Linked DNA regions of Homo sapiens: regions 1, 2, 3 and 5 are each linked to region 4. Evidence: promoter capture Hi-C in 16 types of primary human blood cells and fetal thymus (Javierre and others, 2016). All regions are on one chromosome and are shown on one strand. Each heading gives the region's core, a stretch centred on a gene start or on the middle of the fragment in contact. The rest is flanking DNA. Distances are from core to core; before and after follow the strand shown.

Region 1 (5,511 bases), core at 302-2,801, 340 kb after region 4:
CTTAGCCTGTGAAGATGGAGTGATAGCCCAGCTCTTGGTGGTGCCTGTTGCCTCCTGAGTATCCCCTTGTGAGGGATGGGGATTCGAATATTCTTCCAGCACAACTGAGGGTGTTTATTCCCTATGAAAATATGAACAAGGACACAGCATTTCTGAGGGGAGGACTGAAGCCTGGGTGGCTTCTCTTCTCTCTTTTCTCCTTCAGTGACAGAAAATATCAGCCTGCTTTTCTTTCCCCTAAATGACTGTCAGGAGCCCGGTTGCAAGGTTGCTTATTGACACATGAAGGAGACAAGCTGTGTAGACAGGGTGGCCGCACCTTTTCAGGCCCCACCTGCGGGGAACCCTACAGCTGGGGACAGTTCTCATGAGCATGGCCCAGCCTGAGTCTCTGCATTCCAGTCCCCCTCCTCCGAATCACTTCTAGCCTGAGGCCCTGCAGAAGTTCCCTACTTTCTCTGTCTGTCTTTGTACCCACAGACCATTCCCACATGTTCATCAGTCAGCCAGTCAATGAGTATTTATGGAAGGCCAACTGGATCTGAAACTAACCTAGGGGCCAGCATAGAGCAATGACTTCAGTAGGCAGGGCCCCACTTAGAGAGCTGTACATTCTAAAAGAGAAAAATGGTCCAAGAGAAGCAAACAGGTTGTAAATCAGATAGTGACTGTAAAACTGCAGGAGGCGCATGGCTCCGGTCATCCCTGACAGAAGCGCCACCTGCAGAAATGAGGATGGTGCTGTCTTCCTCCTATGTGCTACCTCCCCCCCATCTCAGTGGCTAACAGCCATCTGTGGGATTAGGGTCTCAGAGGCCATCCTTGTTAGCAGGGTTCTCATGGATCATCTTTCTTTTAGGCCACTGATGACAGTTGTATAGTAACAAAATGATTTATGGGTGGTAAGGAATCCCAGTCATGTTGTGTTATATTTTTCTTCAGTTCTCTTCTAAAATTTGACTGTGCCAGTAGAATCATTAAAATTGTGTCCAATTCCTCCACAAACATGCATATGTATATGTATATATTCACAAATAAAAACATGTACATAAAAAATTAAATATACATATATATTTTTTTGAGATGGAGTTTCACTCTTGTTGCCCAGGCTGGAGTGCAATGGCATGATCTCGGGTCACCACAACCTCTGCCTCCTGGGTTCAAGCAATTCTCCTGCCTCAGCCTCCTGAGTAGCTGGGATTACAGGTGCCCGACACCACGCCTGGCTAATTTTTTTGTATTTTTAGTAGAGACGGGGTTTCGCCATGTTGGCCAGGCTGGTCTGGAACTCCTGAGCTCAGGTAATTCACTCGCCTTGGCCTCCCAGAGTGCTGGGATTACAGGCATGAGCCACCACGATGGGAACTATTTCTGAACAAACTCTTATACATTATGGAAATTACTTTAAGGCTTTCTAGTTATTAAGATTTCCCAGCCCATTTGCTTTCTCTGGGATATCCCATGTCATCTCTTGGATAATGCAGTAGCTTGATGAGGGCTCCGTTATAACTTTGGGTCCATGCGATATTCTGCTTCCACTGCCATGTGCTGTCTGGCAAGCAAAGGTAGCAGAGAGAGAGCCGGGAAGACCTTCTAGGCTATAGGCCACACAGCAACAGCAATGTTATAAATCACGAGGTCTGCAGGGGTATGTAGAGAAGTGGGCTTCAAACTATCATCAACATTTCATGTGGGCTCTATTTCAAATGGGCTGGGACGGAAGGCCTGTTGCATTGAGTCAATGAGAAAAAGAAGCTGATTATATCATAGTTCCAGGTGACCTGGTGCATTTAATGAAAAATACCGGCCACCAAATGTGAGTGCTGAAGTAGACATCTATGAAACATGTTTGAAAAAGAGAGAGAGAAAAGTCAGTGTCGAGACTTCAGTGTAATATGTGGCCCCCACCTGGCAAATGTAACGCCCCTCCCAGGGAGTTAGGGTGCCCTGCTTAGGAGTTCTACTCTGGTGCACTGGGACCCAGACAATGAGACTAAGTCCACTCCACTCCAGTATCAGTGATGCCTGACTGCCCTTTTCACTAGGACACTTTTGTTGGGAAAACATGCTAAGGCACCGAAGCGCTTCTGTTCCTCGTATTCCTCTCTATCACCTTTCCTAGACCAGTTGTCTAATTTAGGCAAATGTCTCATGTGCATAGATACGCTCTTGCTTAGTGCTGTGTGAGCTCTAGATGATTCTGCCTTCAATACATCCAGTCTTAATTGAAGATTGCCGGCAGCTGGCTTACACGGTTAACCGCGCACCTTTGTGAAGGCTCTTGGCTAAGAGCCATGTGCATCTCTGCTTTTGAGTGCAGTTGAGAATGCACGTGGAAAAGCTGTGGATATTTAACAATGGAGCATATTCTGTAATGCATGGGGCTTAGTAGAATCAGGGGACATTTAATACTGGTGTACTTACAATTACAGGGTGGTATTTTTGTCATTTTTTAAAGTGTCTTGATAAAATCCTGTATATTGTAAACATTCACTTTGAAAAGTCATCATACTGAGCCAAAATGAAAAGCTCTGTCTTGGCCACCCAGGCTGTCTAGGGAACTGCCTCAGGAAGCAAGACTGATCCTGTTTCTGTGTTTCAGGTGCAGGATGAGGGGACCAAAGAAGAGGACAAAGCCCTGGCTTGTAGCCCCATCCAAATAACAGCGGGGAGGAGGCGGAGCCTGTGGTACGCAACCCATTACCCCACTGATGAGAGAAAAGTAAGCCATGATGAAAGGGATTTCCGTTCCCTAATTTTTCTGTTTTTGTATTTTACTGTTGAATATGAGCCTTATAATATCATATATATCATATCATATTCAGGTTGCTTGTAGTTTATAGAAACAGTGATTTAGGAGAGTTAGTACCAGAGAGGGAAAACTATTTCCAAAGAAAATACCCAGATCCCGTCAAGAACATCATTTTATATTTCCGTGCTTTCTACTGAAATCTCCTAATCTTAAAAAGAATGTTCCTATTAAAAAATAATTTTGTAATTAAAACAAACAAAAGTAGCAAAGCAATCTGTTAGCACTGGAGGGTGAAAATTTCAGTGCTGAACTATATTGCAGAAAATAATTTTACTCTGTCGGGTATTTGGTTGATTTGGGTATTTGGCAGACAATTACTTGAAAATAAATGAAGTGAGCTCATCACTTTGAGGCAAACAACGGACAATAATTGTTACCAGTGATAAAATTTAAGCATTTGAGTAAAAATTAGAATTTTTGAAAATTCATATCTACTGAGGGCTTAAAAACTTTCCAATATTTGTGGACTTTTCTGATGAGATGAGGTGATATTGACAAATGTGCTTTTTACTCATGGCATACTGAAACTTGTCAGTATTTGGTAGAGTTCGATACCTGTAACTCACTGAAACAGCAGTTTCCGACTCACCAACACCTGACATGACAGCACGTGGATAAATGATCCAGTCGGGGTGCATGATATGCCAATGGGTTTTAATGTAGCAGAGTATGTATGAAAAGTTCACTGATATGGTTGCAGATTCTGCACTACAACTGACATTCAAGACTACACTGGTTGAGTCTGATCGAGTAGCAAAGACTGTCCACAGTTATTTAGACAGATTATTAAAATACCTTTTTTTTTTTTTTTTGGCAACAGAGTCTCGCTCTGTCACCCAGGCTGGAGTGCAGTGGTGTGATCTTGGCTCACTGCAACCTCTGCCTCCTGGGTTCAAGCGATTCTCCTGAATCAGCCTCCCAAGTAGCTGGGACTACAGGCATGTGCCACCACGCCTGGCTAATTTTTTTGAATTTTTAGTAGAGATGTGGTTTTGCCATGTTGCCCTGGCTGGTCTTGAACTCCTGAGCTTAGGCAATCCGCCTGCCTCGGTCTTCCAAAGTGCTAGGGTTACAGGCATAAGTCACTGCGCCCGGCACTAAAATACTTCTTTTTGACCAAATTGCATACCTATGTGAAGCCAGATTTTCTTTATCTACTTCAACCGGAACACCACATCACAACAGATTGAATACGGAAGCAGATGTGAAAATCCGGTTGTCTTTTATTAAGCTAGACATTAAATAGATATGCAAAATTATAAAACAATGACACTCTCTTCACTATTTGTTTTAAAAAATAACTATTTAAATTATTTATACTAACACACAATGGGTTTTTTTAAATTTTTAATGAATAAATACATAAGTAAATAAGTATTTTAAGACTACCTGGTCTAATTTCTCGTATGGTAGATAATTGATAGATAGAACCCACATAAATTAAGTCTCTTTGGGACCCTCAGTGATTTTTAAGAATGCAAATGAGTACTGACCTAAAATTGTGGTAGAACCACTTGCTGTGCTAATTATTATTTGGGGGAAGCCCAAATCACCTGGTAGTAATGTATTACTAGTTAAAAAGTAGAGTCATATAATAATCATTTTGTTGTAGACAGTATGCAAATCTTAAAATAATCTCTAACCACATTACAAATCAATTTTTCTTTTCTTTTCTTTCTTTTTTTTTTTTTTTTTTTTTGAGACGGAGTCTCGCTCTGTCGCCCAGGCTGGAGTGCAGTGGCGGGATCTCGGCTCACTGCAAGCTCCGCCTCCCGGGTTCACGCCATTCTCCTGCCTCAGCCTCCCAAGTATCTGGGACTACAAGCACCCACCACGACGCCCGGCTAATTTTTTGTATTTTTAGTAGAGATGGGGTTTCACTGTGTTAGCCAGGATGGTCTCGATCCCCTGGCCTCGTGATCTGCCTGCCTTGGACTCTCAAAGTGCTGGGATTACAGGCGTGAGCTACCGCGCCGAGCCCAATTTTTCTTTATTATGAAAATTCTATTTCTTGAAACATAAATACATTCAGAATTCTGCAGATGTCTCAAACGGGTACAAAACTAAGCGCTTATTCTTGTAGAACATAACCCTTGAAAAACATGGTAACATTTATAGACTTGCTTATCTGCTGTATAACTAAACATTAACATCAAGAGCTGTGAAATAGTTGTCATAAACAGCAGCATCCAGCTCATTTATTTGTCCTTTTATATTTTGCATGGCAATATTAATATACTAGCAATCAGCAAGTTAAAGAGAATGGGCTTGTGCACAGTAAAACTTTATAGATACATAAACAGTAAAATGCTTTCAGCTTCCTTACTAACATGCTTTCCCGCATTGCTTTTTGCAGCTTTTATCCATGACCCAGGATGACTACAAACCATCTGATGTTAGTATACCCTTAGAATTATCATTTATGCATGTGTAAGTGATGTAAAGGCAACAAATGGAAGTAGCTCCTTTGAGTCTATTTTAATGATCTATTAAAATTTCCATAAGCTTTTCCATTTTTGGGCATAAATTATATCTGGTAGATTGCTGTTAAATGAAATTGAGTATAATCATACAAAATATATTTAAATTTTAAGAAGCTTTGTGGGCTTTTTAAAAAGTGTTTTGTTCTGTAGCTATGCCTAATTCGTAAGTAGGAAGTTTTGCATGCCCATGGGCGCACATACACCTGTGTATTGGTG
Region 2 (5,174 bases), core at 999-3,498, 330 kb after region 4:
AACTTTCCACCCCATTGAGTGTGGGCTGTGCATTGTGACTTCTTTCCAAAATATAGAGTATGGAAAGTGGAGGCCAGGCATGGTGGCTCACACCCATAATACCAGCATTTTGGGAGGCTGAGGCAGGCAGATCACCTGAGGTCGGGAGTTCGAGACTAGCCTGGCCAACATGGTGAAACCCCATCTCTACTAAAAATACAAAAATTAGCCTGGCATGGTGGCACATGCCTGTAGTGCCAGCTACTTGGGAGGCTGAGGCAGGAGAATTGCTTGATCCCAGGAGGCAAAGGTTGCAGTGAGCCGAGATTGTGCCACTGCACTCCAGCCTGGGTGACAAAACAAGATTCTGTCTCAAAAAAAAAAAAAAAAAAGGAAGAAAGGAAAGAAAGTGGAAAAAAAAAGAGCAACTTCTTTGTGGAGAGACCTGACAAACACTCAGCCAAGTGATCAAACTTAACATCATCAGGTATAAGTCATGTTGATAGCATGTATCCTTGGAATGGTGTGATGAGAATGGCACTTTACCCCTGCAACCTTTCTCCCCCAAATCCTTAACCCCTGCATAACCATGAGAAAACAAACAAAGCAAAACAAAGGGGCATTCCACAGAATACCTGATGAGAACTCAGAACTGTGAAGCTCATCAAAAACAAGAAATATCTAAGAAGTCATTGCCTAGAGGTGCCCGTAGAGACATGATGATTAAATGTAATGCAGCATTCTGCATGGGATTCTAGTGTGGATAAAGGACATTAGGTGGCCGGGCATGATGGCTCACTCCTGTAATCCCAGCACTTTGGGAGGCCGAGGCGAGTGGATCACCTGAGGTCAGGAGTTCAAGACCAGCCTGGCCAACATGGTGAAACCCCATCTCTATGAAACATACAAAAATTAGCCAGGCATGGTGGCGGGTTCCTGTAGTCCCAGCTACTCGGGAGGCTGAGGCAGGAGAATCACTTGGACCCAGGAAGTGGAGGTTGCAGTGAGCCAAGATCACACCACTGCACTCCAGCCTGGGTGACAGAGAAAGACTCTGTTTCAAACAAAAATAAAGAAAATGACATTAGGTGAAAACTAAGAAGATTTCAATAAAATATGGACTTTAGTTTAAAATCATGTCTCAGTATTGTTTTGTTAATTGTGACAGATGTATCATACTAATGTAAGATTTAACAGTCGAGGAAAATGGGTATAGAGAATTCTCTGTAGTATGTTTTCAACTTGTCTGTAAATTTAAAATTGTTCTAAAATTTAAAAAAACACTTGAAATATATCTTGGAACTTGTTTCATATCAAATATAGATATGGATATATAGATAGATGGATTTTTTTATTATTTTAAATGGATGCATAGTATTCCATAATATACATATATATGTCATAAGTTATCTAGAAATCTAAATCTAAATTTCTCTGTCATGTTCATTTAAAATTTTATTAGCTTTGCACTATTACTGTTCATAGCCAACAAATATCCTTAAATAAACATGAAAGCATATATGCAATAACTTGTCTGTATCTAAATAAAACATAAAACCTAAAGAAGTTTTGAAAAACTCCAGCAGAGAAAGCTGCAGATGGGAAACCAAGGCTCTGCAAATATTAAGGTCTTGAAGGCCTTTATATCACCTTCTTGTTGCCTTTATTTTAAATACATTTTTTCCCACAGACTATGGAGACTTGTCTCTTGCTACTCTCGTAAATTATTCCCTAGCCCCAGATTTCTAGAGTAGTCTGTGGTTTATTTATGCAATGAAATACTACCCAGAAGTTAAAATGGACTATATTATATATGTGCATAAAATATATATATAGGGTTAAATTCATATAACAATTGTATGTATTATTTATGGGTGCATACATATGTAGAAAAAGTGAGTTAAATATTCATGGGAATGATATACACTGACCTTAGGATAAGGCTTGAGGAAGAAGGAAGAGGAGGAGTGAAAGAACTGTAGGCAAGGCTTTAGCTATGCCATGAAGTTTTAATTACTTTTTCTTAAGTGTGCTGGCAGAACGAAATGTGGCAGAATGCGAATATGTGCTTCCTCTGAGCAATGGGTGTCTGTGTATGTTTTATAAGTCCTATCATTACATTCAATTAAAAAATGGAAAGCCATTCACCATTCATGTCAGTCTCTTGTGTTGTTGGTAAATTATTGTGGGATTCTTTTTCCCTCTGATTCTTCAAAGACTAGCTTTGTATTGCTTGTATCTGCACCTGTTGATTGCAATTACATTTATCCCTCCCCTCCCTTTGTTTCTCCACACACTCTGTACTTTTTGAACTGGGTTGTTTCCATTTAAGGAAGGCCATATTTGAAGATGAAAACTAAGCATATTTGAGGATGCGTGAATGAAAAAAATTATTCCTTCAAGCATTCACCAAAATAATGTGCAGCTTTGATTCTTTTATTTTTCACACGTTCTAGATAACAGATGGCACTTTAGGGCTATTAACAGGATGTGTGAGAAAAAATTCAGGGCTATATGTAGTGATTCTTTTAAATACTCCCGTTGTTGAGTGGACAATTTAAGTCATCATAGTTGTGAAGGGAATAAAAGAGAAGCGGCAGGTTGTTTTTGTTAGAAGTAATCTCCAAAATACAAAATAAGAAAGTAAGAGAAAATTTCCTACTTTTGCAAAATTAAACAATCTGAAAGCTCAAATTAATTATTCTTAATAAAAAACAAAAATGTTAATACATAAATAAAAAGAATCTTTTCTGTCTAAAAAGAGAACCTAGACATTTCAGCAAGCCAGTGCAAATTCTTTCAAGCTCTCTACTTCTACCTATTCGGTACCTTATAATGGAGTTGATGTTACTGGCAATAGCTCTAAGGTCATAAAATGTCTTAAATACTTTCTGAATCATGAAAGAAAAAGTTATATCATTTTCAAATCATCTTAGTATTAAGAGATATTCTATTTGTTTTAAAATAGCAGCCTGTATAATGTCTAAGAAGTTCACAGACTTCAATCTAGCTGAGTTCCAAAAGTTTGTTGAGCCGCTGATTTTTCTGGGTTAGATATAAATGTTAATTTCCAAGTTTAATTTATGAAAGTTAGTTTAATCCACAGTAGCAGACTTCTGTTTGTTGGCTGTCTTTTGGTTCATACTCCCTTTTAGAAACTTGGCAAGTAGACATTCATTAGCCGCTTAGTGCACCCCAACGCGTTCACAAAATTGCAAAGAGAAGCATTGATAACATCTAACAGGAAATGTGGTGAGCCGGCTCCTGCTGTGCCGTTCTTTAGTCCACAGGTTCACTCCTTCCCGACCTATGAGAGCTGATTCCACTAGGCTGATTGGAGGCCAGCAGACACTGGCCTGGTTCCCTCCATGCTTTCCAGGGCTGGGACTTAGCAGAAAGGAGCCTGGTGCTCCAGCATTCCTAATCAGGGAGCTTCTCCAACTAAGTGTCAGGGCCTCTAAGACATAATAGGAAGTTTGTTTCAGTGTTTTCTCAAAGGTATTTTTAGCCATCACCACCCTGGAAAAGGGAATTTTAATTACTATCATTGATTATAATGGTAATTTTAAGAATACCAACTTTATTGGGAGGAAAAGTTTCAGCTATTTATTTCCAATATAAAGCTGTAGAAAATGTTAGTTAGGGATGGGTAAGCCATTAGCAAGAGATGATTGACAATATTCTGACTTAATACTCTAAGTCACTGCTATCCCAAATGGCAGATCAGTGCTGGTCCATGAATTGTTTGAAACAGATTTTCAACAAGTTAAATGCAGACGTTGAGAGAAAGCATTTAAAATTTATATAGCACAATGACATTGTGGTGACATGCAGGCATGTGATCATTTTCTACTAATTATTATTTTCTGTTACATTTACAAATGTATTAGTACAAATGAATAGCAATTTTTAAAGGGTCTCATAACTTGAGAAACACATTTTAGAAGGTAAGAAACTTGTTAGAAAATCTATTTTCATTACAAAATGTGTAACTTTGATTTTCTCTGACAAATTTATACTAGCACTATTGCATTTGTAATCAATGACTCTAATCACGTTTAAATTTACAAACAATATAAAAAGAAAGTAAAAAGAGAACAAGGAGTTTTCCTGAGATTCTCTGCTAAGAATTCAAGAAAGACAAAAGTGTGGAAGAAGTTGAAAGAGGATGTATGTTCACCTGAGGTCTATGTTGTAAATGGTGAGAGACAGGGAGGGCGCAGGATGGTGCTGTGGGTAGAATCTTTGATGAAAAAGGTGGTGGTGGGTGGGGGTGATACTTGACTCATATTTCCTGGTTCCAGCAACCTGGAAAACTTCTAGGTTGTATCTGAAATGAGGTAAGAAGAGAGAAAATAAGGCAAGATGTAATTATTCATTTTAATGTATAAGCTGGTTACAAATAAAATATTTATTATTCATATAGTGTTTATATATAGTAAGCCTTTGATAAAAATATTGTTTTAATCAGAACATTCTACTTCTAGGTGGGTAGGTAGATACCTTTATGCAAGTATATATTCATATTAGTCAGGCAGGTGTTAAAAAGATATGTGAAGTGTACTAGACCAGCTATCCTCCTATAATCAAAGAGAAAACTAGAGAAAATATATGAAACAACTGTTTTCAGATGCTGAGCTATTGGAAGTGTGGGTTTATGATGGCTGAGAGAAGGGAAACAACAGGATAGGCTAAAGGATTTTTCCAGCTTTCTACCTGGAGGAATTTACTGTACATTATGTGGGGAAGGGAATCCAAACTGAGCATGGTGGTCTTGCTGAGCTGAAGATGGGAATTTGGAGAGGATGAGAAGGCTGATATTTGTGGCACAGAGTAATGGAGAGGAGAAAGACAGAGAAAGAGCTCCAGAGATCTTCAAGGAGTCATCTAGACACTTTAGCTGAATTCTAAGCTGTGCATGCATAGGTAAGACTCCATGAAGTCAGACAAAGCAAAACTCCCGGGGAAAGAACAAAAATTGAGGAACTGTAAAGTTAGTAACTGCCAGAGCTCATATAGATTTCTGAAAATATTTTAGCTTTGGCCAGAGTGAAGAATTCTTCTACTCTACTGGGACTGAGCTAATCATACCGTGAAGGTTACTGCAGGCCCATCACAACAAAACCTATAAACAAGCCTACTAGGATAAAGCTGATGCAAGTAACTTAACTTCCTGCCAGTATAAAACTCAACAC
Region 3 (5,052 bases), core at 2,366-4,865, 380 kb after region 4:
GATGCATCTGACTGCCAGCCTGGAGAAGCCGGAGGTGAGGAAGTTGGCTGAGCCTGGGGAGGAGAAGCTTGAGGGCTACTCTGAAAAAGCCCAGAAGGGTGATCTTGGGAAAGACAGCGAGGAGTCAGAGGAGGACGGAGAGGAAGAGGAGGAATCCGAGGAGGAGGAAGAAACATCAGGTAATCAGCCCACTACCAGCAGCTGGTCAGAGAACGCTGGCTGTCAGACTGAGTGAAGGAAACATTGACTTGCTCCAAAAGAATATATATTTGACCCAGTCCATGACATAAAAATTGGAGTGGTTTTTGTTTGATTGCTATAGTTATAATATTACTGTTCCAATTGCTCCAACAATTTCTTTTTAATTCTGACTGAGTAGAGACCAGACGACTGGTTATCAGTGACTGACCCTCAAGTAGTGCTCCTGTCTAGACACTGGTGGGGCATGGTGTTGACCACGTCCTCAGTCAGAGCCTCTCTGTTTCTACCAGATGCAGGTACAACCTGGCTGTGCAGAATCTCAAAGGCTCTAGACATCGCCCTTACAAATGCATTCTCAAGAAACCATTCTGAGACTTTTCCAGGAAGCCAATAATTAAGAATATATTTCTAGCTCTGATCTGATGCCTAAGGACATGGGAACTGGAGGAGAAAGTCAGCAATTGGATAATTATAATTTCAAGCAAACTCCTAGAGATGTTTTTGTCAATATTGTTGTTACAGGAGTTTCAATCTTTATTATTTGGGCTCTTCTTTTCTACTTCCCTTCCTAGACTTGAAATAATGTTTTAATAGAGCATGATGAACATTGAGCAGCCTCAGTGATCAGGACATGTTATCTGACAGAGAATATAAAGTCTATGTAGCAGTTTCCAGAAAGACTGGGACAAACCAGAGAGCATCATCTCTGGGGTGAGGTTCTGGGGCTATGATCTTAAGATGCTGCACTTGTCTTTGCTGGTCAACTGTCCTTAACAAAAGTAGAAAACAAAAAAAGTAGCAAGAAGACCCCTTCCAAAGGTTTGTGCCCCTTAAACCTGGTGTTCTTTCCCCACTCATCTCAGAACACAGAGGAGAGGACTGGAAACGTTCTCTCCATATCTGAGCATTGTGAATTCCTCAGTGTGAAGGGGAGACCCCAGCTCTGTGAGGCCAAGGACTTAAGTCTAGGATTTTATGACACTACTTCAAGATGGATTTTGAGCTTTGCTAATAGGTCCTGCCCAAAATTGCTCAGCCACTTTTCTCTCAATCCCTCATGTCTGTGGCAGCTACACGTCTAAATCATGCTCATTTATTACCTACACCTTTTTATTGACTACCATCTGAGTCACTCTCTAAATACAGTAGTCCTGCCTTAGCCTTGGGGGACATGTTCTAAGACTCCCAGTAGATGCTAAAACCTCAGATAACACAGAACCCTGTATACACTATGCATGAATTTCTTTTTCCTTCTTCACAATTACACAGATAGAAGAGTTGTTCTTACCTTAGATCTTAGCAACCTCAGCATACATTTTTTTCTTTCGTTATTAATAAAATTGAGAATTGTTAACCATTCACTTAAAGGAAGCATTTTATGGCTTCTCTCTGGCATATTCAAATTGCCAGCATCACTACTCTTTCACTTGGAGCCATTAGAAAGTAAAATAAGAGTGACTTGAACACAGCACTGCAATACTGCAGCGGTCACTCTGAGAACTGAGACAGCTATTAATTGACTGACCACTGGGCAGGGAGTGTAGACAGCATGGCCCTGCTGGACAAAGGGATTCACATTCCAAGGGGAAGGACAGAGCGGGACAGCATGAGATTTCATCCTTCTACTCAGAACAGTGTGTAACTTAAGACTTCTGAATCATTTCTGGAATTTTCCATTTAATATTTTTGGACTGTGGTTGACTGCAGGTAACTGAAATCTTGGGAAGCATAGCCATGGATAAAAGAGAACTACTGTAAGCATACTTCACAATAACTAGAACCTTACTTAGCTTTCAGAACCAGGCACAGTAACTGTTGCATATACCCAAGCCAGTTAAAGAAGCTACTTAAAGAGATACTTAGGACTTGTAATCTGCCAAGACAGACTTGTAAGCTTTTGTTTACAAACAAGACAGGCTGATATTACAAAACAGTCCTGCTGTGACTTTCAGTCAATAAAGTGAGCCAGCATAGTCCTTCTAGATAGAAGCATGACTCCTGTTTTAGCACAAGGTAGAAATAATAAAATAAGTAATTTGATTAAAAATTATCATTTGAATGAATCTGACCATGTTTCAGAAAACCACGGGCTGAGTCATTCTGATGCTTAGAGTTCACTTCTTGTTCTGACAAGGAGCAAGCTCTTCCTGCCCATGCAGGGCTCTGACTGGTTCACTTTTTCATGGAAACCAGAGAGCTTTACCACTCACCAGTTAAGCCTTGTCGAAGGAGACAGGCCATTTATAAAAGTGCCGTTGTGGCAAGAAAGATGTCTTTTAGAAGGAGTTAAGATTATTTAACATTCCTAGAATATTAGAAAATTATAGTTTGGTCTTAAGAGTAAATAAGATTAAGGGGGCTGGGGGCATGGGCGCTCATGCCTGTACTCCCAGCACTTTGGGAGGCTGAGGCTGGTGGATCATTTGAGGCCAAGAGTTCAAGACCAGCCTGGCCAACATGACGAGATCCTATTTCTACTGAAAATACAAAAATTAGCTGGGCATGGTGGTATGTGCCTGTAGTCCCAGCTACTCAAGGAGAATCGCTTGAACTCAAGAGGCAGAGGTTGCAGTGAGCCGAGATTGTGCCACTGCACTCTAGCCTGGGCTACAGAGCAAGACTCTGTCAGAAAAAGGAAGGAAGGAAGGAAGGAAGGGAGGGAGGGTGGGAGGGAAAAAGAAAAGGAAGAAAGAAAGAAAAGTAAATAATGTTGATCATGCCACTGCACTTCAGCCTGAGCTACAGAGCAAGACTCTGTCAGAAAGAGAGAGAGAGAAAGCAAGCAAGCAAGCGAGTGGAAGGAAGGAAGGAAGGAAGATAATGTCAAAATCCTTCTTTACACTAATTTAATCAAAAGGTGGACAAAAGCCACATTGTCCCTCCAAGTCTGAGAGTATGATATCTGTGTCATCATGACTTGGGATTCTTACATCATCCTTATTCCAGATTTTGGTTTTCTTAGAATTCATCCACTGTAATTATTTTGCAGCCTCTCATTCCAACCTGAAAGTTACAAGATATGCTTTAAATGATAATATTTTTAAAAATGTTATGCTCTTGTCTGTACTTCCTATTTTGCAGACTTAAGGAACAAATGGCACCTGGTGATTGACCGCCTCACTGTGCTCTTCTTAAAATTCCTGGAGTATTTTCACAAGCTGCAGGTGTTCATGTGGTGGATTTTGGAGTTGCACATCATCAAAATCGTTTCCTCTTACATTATCTGGGTTTCTGTGAAAGAGGCAAGTGAACATTTGTCCTATCATCAGGCTGAACAGAACCACAGTAGGTCATCATTTTCCTTTTCCAGCTGTCCATGATTTTTTTAATGTGATCCGCATTACATCGGAGTATCAAGACTCCAAGACTAAGTACTTACACTTACAGAAATCCGAGGGTCAGCAGCACTGAGAAAAAGGAAAGAGGCTCGTGGCTGAGTTTCTCGTTGGCTTGGTCATATTACAAAGGCTACTTATTTTCATCGAATCCTTAGGGAAGAGTGTGAGAGCAGGCTGCCCTTCTGCCCCTGCCTATGGGAATCTATCTCCCTAAATTCTCCAAGGAAAACAGTAGCATTCCAGTTTACATTACCAAGGAGAAAGCTCAGGTTCCAAAATCTAATAAAATCTTTAGTAGAGTTCACCTTGTTTACTACTGGATTTCTTGAGATACAATACAAAGTCTTCAGCCATGCACCTGTACTGCACTTCTGTTTCCTTGATTGTAAAGAAGAGAGTCGTCATCCAGCCAACAGATTATTTAATGTTCACTGCAGAGAAATTAGCTTTCTTTCCTTTTATTCAACAAATAGTGTTTGCATACTTCTATATGCCTGGATTATTTCTGAGTTGGTTACAATTCAAGAATTCTTTGCCCTCTAAAAATTAATCAAGGGAGTACTGCCTATAATCTTTAAAAAGTTACATATATAACAGTAAAATATCACAACTACAACACTACAAACCTAAAACTTTTCACAAATAGGTAGCTAAGAGATGAACCTTAATTTGAGCTCCATAGTCTAAACTAGAACTTCTCCCCCATTTCATACAAACCATATGAAATGGGCAGGGAATCATTGCCAAGTGGGAATGAAAACAGAAGCCATTCTATCTGCGAGATTCGTGGGGAAATGGCAGCGGCTCCAATGTTAAGTCACTGGGCGTATACGTTAAATGGAGCCCAAATCTAGCCTAGTATTTATATTCATTGAGAGCCAACATTTAAGCATTTTAACTGTAGAGGTGAATTGAACAGTTCAGATAAAAATTTCAGGGTTAGGGTATTAAAGAGAAATGGAAAAGAACAAGAGAAGGCATTTGACAAAAAATGCACAGAGACCATTTCTGAACAAATCCAGTCTGAGGTACAGGTGACTTCTGATTCATGAGAAGCTGCGTGGCAGGGTGTGAAGGTGTGTTCAGACAGTGTGGTGATGGGAGTGGGCATTGGGGGAGCGGAAATTCATGGGAGTCGGACGCAGAGAATCTGCTGTCATAAATCCATCCTGTTGTACAATCCATCCATCAGAAAAGGGTTAAAGGATGCAATTTCTTATAGATCCTAAACAAAAGGCAGACATAACTTTTTCATTATCCTTAATGAGTCCCCAGACATAAACTTGTTAACAGACCATCAAGTAAACAGAATATCTAGTTACCTTGTTACACTCTTGGGAAAACAGCCTTCCATAGAGTATCACCACTCCCTTCTCTGTGATTCACACATTGTGCAGACTTTCAGAATTTTCATTCCTAATTTCATCTCTCTCACCTTTAACTTTAAAACAAGTGAGAGACTCCTGAAGCATAGAAATCCTGCTCTTTCTGCTGCTAGCATCTGCCAAATCCC
Region 4 (5,260 bases), core at 1,159-3,658:
AGGCATAGGGTGTCTGGTGCTTAATTCATTACCGGGGTAAACTGGTGATTATACACATCAGGTACCCATGAAATATCAAAATAATATGTCCATGAGTATTTTACATGTTTGATTTCTCCCCAAAGCATTTTTAAACTCACATACTCTTTCAAATTTTAGACAAGATTCTGGCAAACTTTGGAATAAAGTTTGCCAGGCAAGCAGAGCTCCCGAACAGTGATCAATACCCTCATGGGCTGGTGAGTCCTTAAAAACTAACCTGTCTAGACACCAGATACTGCTTCTATGAGAGCAGGGAAAATTGAGGGTTAAACAGCCCTTGTAAAAACAATGCCACTGCTATGGATATGTATGCTCAAGTCAAGTCCATTGTGAAAGAAAATACAGCTTCAGAAAGGTGGATGAGGTTTGGAGATGCTGGTTTTGAAAGCCAATGGACTATTTTCTGAGTCTGATATGAAAATGAGGACAGCGGTCTTCACCCCTGACTGCATACTTAAGAATCACTTGAGAGCTTTAAGAAAAATACAGGTGTGGGGGCCCCATCGCAGACCAATTAAATCAGGATTTCAGGGAGTGTGGAGACTGAGCGTTTTTCAAAAGCTCCCCAGGTGACTGCAACATGTAGCCAGCATGGAGAAGCCTATTTCAGATGTAGTCTAGACCGCTGAAACTTCCCCTTGAGTACATACGTTGGAAGTCTCAGAACTGGGATGTAGTTGTTAAAATCTCTAACGCCCCAGCAGCCAAGTTGGTACACACTGTGGCAGAGAAAGCTCGAAGTTTATTTGGTAAGACCACCCACCTGCTGGGAATCTTGTGCCTCCCAGCTTATGTTATTTTGAAAGAGAATTATTGTGAAAAAGTCTAGACAGTTGTTAGTATGGGAAGCCTATCAAGAACATAAGAAAGTATTCAGAGAATACAGAATTCATGTGATGACACAGTATTATTTAAAATTCAGGAGTCCTTCACCTATTAGCTCCCAAGAATGAGTCGTACATGGGGTGAGGTGGGGAGGGCATGGATGTGAAGGCAGACTTATGAACATCAAAATTAGTGGTAGATTTATATCAGGCTTCTACAAACAGGCTACACAAACCATTTCTTGATAGCATTTCTTGGTGACTGGATGCTAATTTAAGTTCTATCGTCTCCTGTAGGTCTGCTGTTGAGCTCATGACTACGCCCGGGTTTAGGTGCTATCTAAGCTTCTTGAGGATGGCAGAGCACATGGGTGGTTTAAGTTTCAGGGTGTCTTCACCATATGCCAACTGTCTTGAGTCTTCATTCAAAAAGCAATGGTTCATAGTTTTTCTGTAATTCTCAGAGAATTCGTGAAGGCACCTGAGCTCAAACCACAAGCTTACCCTGTCTCAAAAAAGGGATGTCCACAAAAGCGTTTCAAATGGCTAAAAAGACGGGGGTTTGCCTGTTTTTCATCAGCTCACTGCTCTATCCCCTCCAACTAATGCAAGCCAGGAATGTAGGTGCGGAAGGGAAGCCAGGTCCTTCCCAGTGTGTCCTCCTGATGGAATGCCAGTCCTGAACAGTCCTCTCTACAGATGCTAACAGCCTCTTCCTCCATGTCCGGAAAGACCCCTACTGTGCTCTAGCAAATCTCCTCCACTCTCGGATAACAGTTAAATAAAAGACCCAGGCACACTGCAGTCTCCCAGCTAGAGCCAGATTTCTCTAGATCTTGCCTAGAACAGGCAAAAAGCAGTGCACTAGGAGAAAGGGAGAATATTCTCAGTGCCAACGCTCTCTTTCCCCAGAGCCACGACAAGCAAGGAGCAAAACTGAGGTGAAAACGGAGAGTTCCCCCAAATGCACAAAGTGGGTGCATTATCTGTTGGGGAAGACCCGGGATTTCCCAGAGTCTATTCAGAATGGCAAGTTCTTGCTATGTGAAATATGGGCAGGGTCAACGGTGTAGATGAATTCAGCTCTATTCTTCTTAATGCCAGTGTGCACCTGTGGACCCAGCAGAAGTCGGGGTCGCACAGGACTCTCCAAGCCCCTGGCTTCTCTCCTGCCGGGCCTGTGCGTTTCCCTCGGACCTTAAACGGTTCCCTGGGTTTGGGCAAGCTCAGGGCCCGGCCGGGTGGACTGGATGCCAGGGTGCACCACCGGAATGACAGAACCACGCAGAGCCGCGGGGCTGCGGGAGCCAGTGGGGCAGGAGTGCCCGCGGAGGGCGAGCCAAGGCGCGCAGCCCACTGGCAGGCCAGGCCGGGTCTCTCCCAGGCGCGGGAGCCGCGGGTGGGGGCTTGCCCTCCGCGCCGGTGCAAGGCTCTCACTTCCCCAGCCGCTCAGGGGCGGGCTCCGCGCGCGCAGGCCCCGGAGCCGCCATCCCATTGGCCGGGGGACACGCCCGTCCCCGAGTGAGGGCTTCGAAAGTTTCATTGAAGGTGGAGAAGCGCGCGCCGCCGGGGAGCCCCGGCTGCGCCGCGAGGGCGAGGCTGCAAGGCGGCAGGCGGTGGTCGCGCTGGGCGACGGGACGGCGCTGGTTTTTCTCTTGAGTTTTAAATTGAGGCGGTGGAGGAGGGAGTGGGAGACCCACTCACCCGATATGCGCTCTGGTCTCCATTTCTCCCCACGCTCGCGCCGTTCCTTCGAGTGAGGGAGGGACTCGCAGCGCCGCCCGCGCACCGGACCCACAAGGCGAGCCCCGTGGTGGCGGGGATGGTTCTGCGCGCCTGGCAGCTCCCACCCCGGTCTCTCCGGCCCGAAGCTGGGGGGCGCAGGGGCTGAGCTGCGCTGCCTCTCGGGGATCCGCCGCGGGCCGCCTGGGGGCTGGAGGGCGAGACCCGGAGCCCGCCGGGCAGCTCCGAGAGCCGGGGCCGAGGCCAGAGCGCGGCAGCCTGCGTGGGCAGCGGAGACGAGGCCGGGCAAAGGAGACGCGGTGGCTTCAGAGGGGCTTCCAAGTAGAAAACTCCCCGGCCGCCCCCAAACGACGCCCCGGGAGCCAGGCGGGAGCACAGCACGCCCTTCTTGCCCCCTTTGCTCGCCGCGCCGCCTCCCAGGACCCTCCCAAAGCGTCCCTCTCCAAGGCCCCGGCATCAGCTACCCCTGAAGAAGCCGCCGCCGCTGCCGGATCCAGGATTCACACTAAATGGGCCGGCCGCAGGGGGCCGGGCGCCGGGCTAGGTGGCCGCCAAGAGCCTGGTGAGGGGCTACCCAGAGCCCGGTGGGCGAGGGGCGGCCAAGAGCCCCGGGAGCGTGCCCTCGGGGCGGAGAGCGTCGCGGCCCGCGCCGAGGCGATGCTCGGGTGGCTGCGAGCTGCCGGCGGCGAGAGGCCATAGACGGGCATGGGCCTTGCGTCCCACCACCCCTAGGGACCCTCGAGCCTCGCCCCTCTGCTCCGACTCGCCGGACCGACGCGATGGCCTCAGAAGTGGTGTGCGGGCTCATCTTCAGGCTGCTGCTGCCCATCTGCCTGGCAGTAGGTGAGTCTGGTCCGCTTTCCGAGGGCACTTGAGGAGGACGAGGGGGGCGCCTGGGTGGGGGACTTCTTAACAAAGTGAAGGGCTCTGGTGCTCTGGGGTTCGATTCGGGAGGCCAGCGGCGTCAGACGCGCGCTGTCCCTGGTGCACAGCCTGGCTCTCTCACTTCCCACTCTGGGGCGCGCGATCGGGGTATCTCTTAACAGGATGCTCGGGACGGGCATGTGCTGGAAACTGTTTATGTTGAATTTAGTTACACGTGGATTTTCTTTCGTGGAGTACTGACTTGTGTACTAAGGATGGCCATTGCTGTGGCTGGAAGGCGGATGCGTCCCCATCGTAGGTACAGTCAGGCTCCTACCTGAGCCCCTCGCCCCAGTGACCCTGCAAGCACAGCATGCTGTGCCTCCAGACGGCCCAGAGGCCATCTCTCCCAGACCCCAAATCCCAGCAACCGTGAAGGAAGAAGTGAAGGACTCCGGTCATTCAAAAAAGAAAAAGAGGGACGAGGTACAGGGAGACAGTGCCTTGACGTTTCTTACTTATTTTTTAAAACCTCCACAAAAGCCCCTACTACAAAAGTACTGGATGCTAAGGCTATAGACCCCCAACACCTAGTCCCGCCTCCCAGCGGCCGCCCTCTCCAGATTTTAAAGGGTTAGAAAGCAGGGTTGGAACTCCTTGGGACTGGCAAGGGCCCAGGGAGGACCGCAAGGGAGCCTCCTCGACGCCCAGACAAGCGTTGCACCGTTTCCCCAGGACTGGCCTGGCGTGCAAAGCAACTGGGTGCTGCGTTCTGGGAGTCGGACCGTTTCTGATCTTCTCCTCAAACAGGCAGTGCCTGTGACATTGAATTCCTCTCGTAAGAATGCCGGGCCCTGGTTCTTTGCTCTCCCTCTCACCAACAAGAGCTAGGAAGTAGAGCGCTTTTCACCAAGTAGTAACTGTATTTACAGAGGGCGTGGCCTTCGCAGAAAAGGCCACCTTTTTGCATCTTGACCGAGGTTGATGACTCTGCATCTTGACCGAGGTTGATCACACCTGTGTTAAATGTTTTCTTTGTGCAAGCAATCGAATGGGGGCTGTAGCGTGATTGGTGAGGGTCAGGACAGTTGCCGGGAGAGTTTTTGTAACACACTTCGTGAGTGAAGAGTCTGGGAGGCGTCTTTTCAACAAACCTCAGCGGAAAACCCAGAAAGGCGCTCCGAGTGGAGGGAAGGTGTGGCCAGGCGGGGTCCCGGGGCAGCAGGAGGGACCCACGGGTGGATGCTGGCCTCGTTCTCTACTTTGCAGTTTGAGTTTCCATTTTGCAGGGGTCTAGTCTCACTCGCATAGATGAAGAGCTAAGCTTCCACAGAGCGGATATGCACCTCTCTCCCCGCCAGCTTGAAAAGCGATTTGGGAAAGGGATTCTTCAGGTGCCTTACACACAGAGGGTGTCACTGCTCAGGGATCATCTCTGTATCCTAAGCGCTTGGCACTGTGCCTGGCACATTTACTATTTGTGAATTGGAAGCTAGTGACCGAGTTAACAAAGGGCTTTTAGCATGAAGCGTGATTTATGGTCCTCAGTGCAGACCGGGGAGGGGTCCTGGGGAGTGGCACTAAGGTTAAAGGCCGCTCTGCTCCCTCCCAGTCCCTCTATCCACCGTCCTCCTCGCCACTGTTCCTGGAGGATGGACACCCTCTTCCCCATCCCCCATCCCGCTCTCCAAGGGACAGCAGCTCACTGTGACTGTTGGAAGAGTTAGGCATGTGGTTCCCTGCAGCCAGCTCGGTCCACTCTGTGACTTGGCACCAGTGGCGGAATG
Region 5 (5,790 bases), core at 3,291-5,790, 280 kb after region 4:
ACATTCATACAATATAAAGTGATCAAATCAGGGTAATTGGGGTATCCATCACCTCAAACATTTACCATTTCTTTGTGTTGGGAATATTTTAAATCTTCTAGCTATTTTGAAATATATAATAAACTATTATTAATAATATAGTCATCCTACTGTGCTATTGAACATTAGAACTTATTCCTTTTATATAACTCTATTTTTATTCTCATTAACCAACTACTCCTCGCTCCCCCTTCCTGCCATCCTTCTCAGCCTTTGGTTACCACCTCTCTGTATTCTCTGCCTCTATGAGATCCACTTTTTTAGCTCAGACATATGAATGAGAACATTGTCTTTGTGTGTCTGACTTATTTCACTTAAAATAATGACCTCTAGTTTCTTCCATGTTGCTGCAAATTACAGGATTTCATTCTTTTTTATGGCTGAATAATATTCCATTGTGTATATACAGCATATTTTCTTGATCCCTGATTCTTGAGTGTTGATGGACACTCAAGTTGATTCCATATCTTGACTATTGTGAATAGTGCCGCAGTAAATATAGAAGTGCAGATATCTCTTAGATATACTAATTTCCTTTCTTTTGAGTATATACCTAGCAGTGGGATTGCTGGATCATATGGTAGTTCTATTTTTAAGTTTTCGAGGAACCTCCATGCTGTTTTCTATAGTAGCTACACTATTATACATTTCCACCAACAGTATACAGGGGTTCCCCTTTCTCCACATCCTTGTCAGCATTTTTTTTTGTCTTTTTGATAATAACCATTCTAACTAGGGTGAGAGGATAACTCGTTGTGGTTTTGATTTGCATTTCCTTGATGATGAGTGATGCTGAGCATTTTTTTACATAAGCTGTTGTCCATTTGTATGTCTTCTTTTGAGAAATGTCTATTTCAGTCATTTGCCTGTTTTTAATTGGTTGTTTATTTTTACTATTAGATTGTTTCAGCTTCTTATATATTCCGATTATTAATTCCTTTCAGCTGGATAGTTTGCAAATATTTTTTCCAATTATCTAGGTTGTCTTTCCACTCTGTTGATTATTTCCTTTGCTGGGCAGAAACTCTTTAGCTTGATATAATCCCATTTGTCTACTTTTGCTTTTGTTGCCTGTGCTTTTGAGGTCTTACCCAAAAAAATCTTTGTCCAGACTAATGTTCTGAAATGTTTCCACAGTGTTTTTTTCTAGTAGTTTCATATTTTCTTCTAGTAGTTTTATAGTTTTCTTCTAGCAGTTTTCATGTTTTCTTCTAGTAGTGTCATAGTTTCAGGCTAGACCATTTTTTAAAGCAAATCTGATTAGATTGAAGATTGATTCCTAGGAGATCCTAGATTAGAAGACTCTTTAATTAAGTTTTAATTTTTATGTATATTATAGTAACAAATACGTGGAAACATTCTATTTATAACAGTAGTTGACTAGTTAAATACCGTCTGTCCATTAGTATGATGATATATAAAAATAAATCATCAATGAGTTGTAAAAATGTTAATGACATGTTAAATGAACAAATCAGCTTGCAAACAGTAGGTAAATAATGAACTTAGTTTTGTTAAGTATAAATGTGCACATCCATGTATAGAAGGAAGATTGGAAAGGAAGGCCATGTGGATACATACATGGGAAAGCGGTTGAAAGCATAAAAGTGAACGTAGGGAGAATGGAGTATAATTCTGTTCTCTATGTGGCTTTTGGGAAGTTAGATTGCCTTTTGAAGCCTTAGTCTTTTCACGTGTAAAAGGATAATAATGCCTAACTCAATATGATGGTTGGTTGGATTAATTAATAATGTGTCTAAAGCTCTTAGCACGAAGTAACTGCTCAGAAAATGGTAGGTATTATTGATAACTTTTATTTTCCAAAATATTAACAGTAGCTATTTCTAGATGCCAAGGTTCTTGCTATTTAATATTTTTAAATATTTTCACCAAAATATATAATATATAATGTAAACGAATACAGTGTGTAATCACTTAAAGTGCATATGAATATGTATATATGTGTGTATGTATTTACATGGTATATTGCCCTATCTTTTGCTTCCTTTCCCTAAGTAAGTTGTATCTCTGATAAACATTTTTTCAAAGACTTAACCCTCCTTTGAAGTTCTATGCTTGATTTTTCCATGGATCATCTTATCTTCCCCAGAAGTTTTAATGCTGGTACAGACTCTTGACTCCTCTACCTGTATCCTCCCTATTTTAAACTCATTTTGTAAACCTAAGTCTGTATAACTTTTTCTTCATATCACCTAGTCATTTCATTAGCTTTTTCTTGTTACAGCTTATTTTATATTATATGAGTGAGCAGAGAACATGCCGGGAATCGCTCTTCATGTGGCTTTAATAATAGTAATAGGTACTGTGGTTACAGCACTACACATCACTAGAGCACTGCAAGCCCAGTTGCTCAGTGTTGCAAAGGCACACAGGGCAGGCATCTAGCACCGGATGAGGGACATGGCTGGCCCGTGTCGTGTGCTGAATGGTGTGAGAAGTCTGCCAGTGCCTATTAAGCTCTGGTGTCTTGCAGCAGAGTGAGCTTAGCCAGAACACATTTCAGCTGAGGTGATGTGTGCTGGCCAACTATGCTGGCAACTCAGTATACTGCCTCTCATTCCCATATTCATTACCACTGGACGCCTCCCAAAATCACAGATGGCGTTTGTATTACCTTCCCAGACAGATCTCTCCTCCTTTTCCAGTTGAAGCCCTTTCTACTCTCCACTTCACCTTCTGGCCTTTGCTGCCTGCTATATTATTAAATATATTTGTTTCAGGATCTCAATTATAACAAAAATGCCCTATATGTGTGAAAATTATCTAAGTGTCAATTGATGCTGCTCTTCTCAAAATGTAGGCTTAGTGAAAATATGTGTTTCATTCTTTACAAAGAACTTTCACGAACATTATTTCATGTATATGTATTTATATTTTCTTCTAAAACCGTGACCTAGTATCTCATGTCACTTGAACAAAATAAGGAAGGCAAATAGTATTACTTCCTCAGCACAGCAGAACAGATGGCTGTGAGAAGCCCCCAGCAGGATGCAACTACTAAGTTTCAGACTTGGACTTGAACTCAAATCTTCTAAGTTCAGTGTTGTTTCTCTGGGATTAAAAGAGAAAATGTACTGGATCCACCTTTCTTGGAACAATACAGAAGACAAAATCAACCAAGTATACAAAATAATGAAGAGGTCCTGGATTCCAGGATTACTTTAACATTTTCTCTATTTTCCTTGTATCTTTGACTTATATCAAAAGTAAAATATCTTCTAGCTGCTAGTATGTATTTAGTTTTAGACTGCTTCAGCTAGATTGCAAACAACTGCATTTGTACTGGACATGTGGTTTATTTAACAAAAACATAGTCCATTAGGACGTTTTAGGAGTGAGGATTGGTTCAAAAGTTCTTTATAATATTTCTGAAACTCCAGGGAACACTGGAATCTTCCTGAATGTGTAGATTTTGTGAGACACTGAGGTCAATAAAAAGCTTTCTTGTACCTTTTAGGGAGAAACGGAGCATCTTTTATTTTAAATCATTAAGAAGACCAAAACATCCTATAAGGCAGTTTAACCGTAGAAATATAAGAACTAAATTTTTTTCCCCTCCCCTTGTTTTTCCTTTATAGCTTAAAGGGAGCTGATGCTGGCAATGGGATCAGAGTGTTTGTACCTGACATCGGGATGTTCATTGCTAGTCTGACCATCTGGCTCCTCTGTAGAAACATTGTTCAGAAACCTGTGACAGACGAAGCAGCACAGAGTAACCCGGAGTTTGAAAATGAAGAATTGGTAAATCCAACTCCATGTCTCTTCCTTCTTTGATTTCTGAGGACCTTGACCCTTAATAAGTTGCAGAACTATGATAATAACAGCTGAGCATACAGAGCACGTTATGATTCACAGTGCTTGACATAAACGTTTACTGTCAAATTGCATGACACCCTCGTGCAGTCCCGGTGGGCAGACACTCTGGTCCACACCTTAGCCATGAGAAGACAGGCTCAGGGGTGTTCATAGGTAAGGGCCAGGCTTTGACCCACCACCCCAAACTATCACGTGATATTATCTCGGAGGCTAACCGTGCAAGGTCATACATAGTGTTATGGTTCAATTGGTCTGGGTACCTTAGTTATTGCAGAATATTTAAAGAAGTAACATCTGGTAGTTTTAGGGAAAAAAATGAGTTCCTCCTTGCAGGGCAGCTTTCCAGTCTGTGCACCTTGTCCTGCTCAGTGGACTGGTGTTAACTTGGCATGCTTTGATCAAGTTGTTTTAAAGCACTCCAAGGGGGAAAAACATACATATTTGGAAAAGTGTGAGAATTTTAAAAAGGTAAAAATAATGAACGAGATGTATGTTTGCTAGCTGGTTGAAAGGTTTCAGGAGCAACTGCTGAATTGGAAGCTTGTCCTATTTTCGTCCTTGGGTATCAGAGCTGTCAGACGGCTCTCACGCTGCCCCCTGACCAGCCTCAGGACACTGTTATGTTCTAATAACTGTACTTTGTTAGGTGAGGTTAGGAGACATCAGTTTAAAGAGTAATTGATTTATTAGTGGAAAGATAACATTTATAAAGGAAAAAGTGACTATTTTATTTGGACATTTGATGCAAAACGCTTGCAAGTACTAAATGTTTTCAGTCATAAGCTTTGGCAAGATATTACACTTATAAAACTGAAGTTAATTGAAGTTACTTATATTGAGAATGTTAACCGATGAGCCATTGAGGGAGGAAAATTCTCACTTATGGAAAATGATTTATATGGTTCACAAGAAAGCAGACAATTTCCTTGTATGCTTATTTAAAAAACAATAAAGGAGGGATAGAATTCAATAAACCTATGCAAACTAGAAATGATATTGTCTAGCCAGGCACTGTGGCTCAGACCTGTAATCCCAGCACCTTGGGAGGCCCAGGTGGGCAGATCACCTGAGGTCATGAGTTCGAGACCAGCCTGGCCAACATGGTGAAACCCTGTCTCTACTAAAAATACAAAAATTAGCTGAGCGTGATGGTGCTTGCCTGTAATTCTAGCTACTCAGGAAGCTGAGGCAGGAGAATCACTTGAACTCAGGAGGTAGAGGTTGCAGTGAGCCGAGATCACACCACTGCCCTCCAGTCTGGGTGACAGAGCGAGACTCTGTCTTAAAAAATATATACATTGTCTAAAATTCTTATGGGTAAAAGATATGCAATCACCTTGCTTATCAATATTCTGCTATTTTTAAGGCAAATGTTAAAATGATGCTTGGTGTAACAGTAATTATAGTAAAGTCAAAGTCACTACTAACCACTTACATCTTACTTTCAAGACTTGACACCATAAGGCATGCATTAGTGCCCTAAAAACGGAAGAGTGCTTCTTCTTCTTGTTGACATTCCAATTGTAAGACAGAGGATTTAAATTTTGACTATTTTTTACATTTACAGTTTGAAAATGACTTTATTTAAATAATCTTTACCAAAATTTGCCTAAGTTTGGGGAAAGTAAACCAGTAACTCACATTCTTCAGACTGGGTATTTGTTATTTTTATGATTTATAAAAGCAAGTTTTTGTTTGTTTGTTTGTTTGTTTTTTAACTTAAGTTCTGGGATTCATGCGCAGAAAGTGCAGGTTTGTTACATAGGTATATATGTGCCATGGTGGTTTGCTGCAACCAACAACCCGTCATCCAGATTTCAAGCCCCGCATGCATTATTATCCTCATAAATAATAACTATAGAAGGAGGGGAAAGGATAAGTATTGAAAATTGAGTGGACTTAGAAGTCAGACAT

What was found. The method cuts DNA at HindIII sites, captures the fragments that hold promoters and counts their contacts. A CHiCAGO score of 5 or more calls a contact.
Region 1: a fragment that was not itself captured here is called in contact with the fragment with the promoter of PIEZO2 in region 4 in 2 of 17 cell types (megakaryocytes and M2 macrophages); the score reaches 6.0 in megakaryocytes.
Region 2: a contact is called between a fragment that was not itself captured here and the fragment with the promoter of PIEZO2 in region 4, in 1 of 17 cell types (M2 macrophages). The highest score is 6.0, in M2 macrophages.
Region 3: a contact is called between a fragment that was not itself captured here and the fragment with the promoter of PIEZO2 in region 4, in 2 of 17 cell types (M0 macrophages and megakaryocytes). The highest score is 5.2, in M0 macrophages.
Region 5: a fragment that was not itself captured here is called in contact with the fragment with the promoter of PIEZO2 in region 4 in 4 of 17 cell types (M1 macrophages, megakaryocytes, M2 macrophages and 1 more); the score reaches 8.0 in M1 macrophages.

The regions. Positions count from the first base shown.
Region 1 is chr18:10,801,086-10,806,596 of GRCh38, reverse strand. PIEZO2 (piezo type mechanosensitive ion channel component 2) reads left to right here. Exons shown (of 56, transcript NM_001378183.1): 9 at 2,603-2,722; 10 at 5,169-5,207. Among named protein-coding and RNA genes, the nearest start is that of MIR6788, 44 kb to the right of the region's middle. The HindIII fragment of the contact is 7,536 bases long and covers 1-5,319 here.
Region 2 is chr18:10,820,748-10,825,921 of GRCh38, reverse strand. The region is part of intron 7 of PIEZO2 (piezo type mechanosensitive ion channel component 2); the gene reads left to right. Among named protein-coding and RNA genes, the nearest start is that of MIR6788, 64 kb to the right of the region's middle. The HindIII fragment of the contact is 7,771 bases long and covers 1-5,174 here.
Region 3 is chr18:10,768,539-10,773,590 of GRCh38, reverse strand. PIEZO2 (piezo type mechanosensitive ion channel component 2) reads left to right here. Exons shown (of 56, transcript NM_001378183.1): 20 at 1-179; 21 at 3,283-3,443. Among named protein-coding and RNA genes, the nearest start is that of MIR6788, 11 kb to the right of the region's middle. RefSeq lists an enhancer at 2,856-4,055. The HindIII fragment of the contact is 3,035 bases long and covers 2,098-5,052 here.
Region 4 is chr18:11,146,717-11,151,976 of GRCh38, reverse strand. PIEZO2 (piezo type mechanosensitive ion channel component 2) reads left to right here and starts at 2,408. Exons shown (of 56, transcript NM_001378183.1): 1 at 2,408-3,452. The coding sequence starts at 3,389. LOC124904249 (a long non-coding RNA gene) reads left to right here and starts at 3,461. Exons shown (of 2, transcript XR_007066288.1): 1 at 3,461-5,260. RefSeq lists silencers at 2,056-2,505, 2,746-3,025, 3,046-3,225, 3,236-3,305 and enhancers at 2,999-3,837, 3,866-3,915. The HindIII fragment of the contact is 3,432 bases long and covers 1,368-4,799 here.
Region 5 is chr18:10,869,264-10,875,053 of GRCh38, reverse strand. It overlaps PIEZO2 (piezo type mechanosensitive ion channel component 2), which reads left to right. Exons shown (of 56, transcript NM_001378183.1): 5 at 3,639-3,801. Among named protein-coding and RNA genes, the nearest start is that of MIR6788, 110 kb to the right of the region's middle. The HindIII fragment of the contact is 243 bases long and covers 4,419-4,661 here.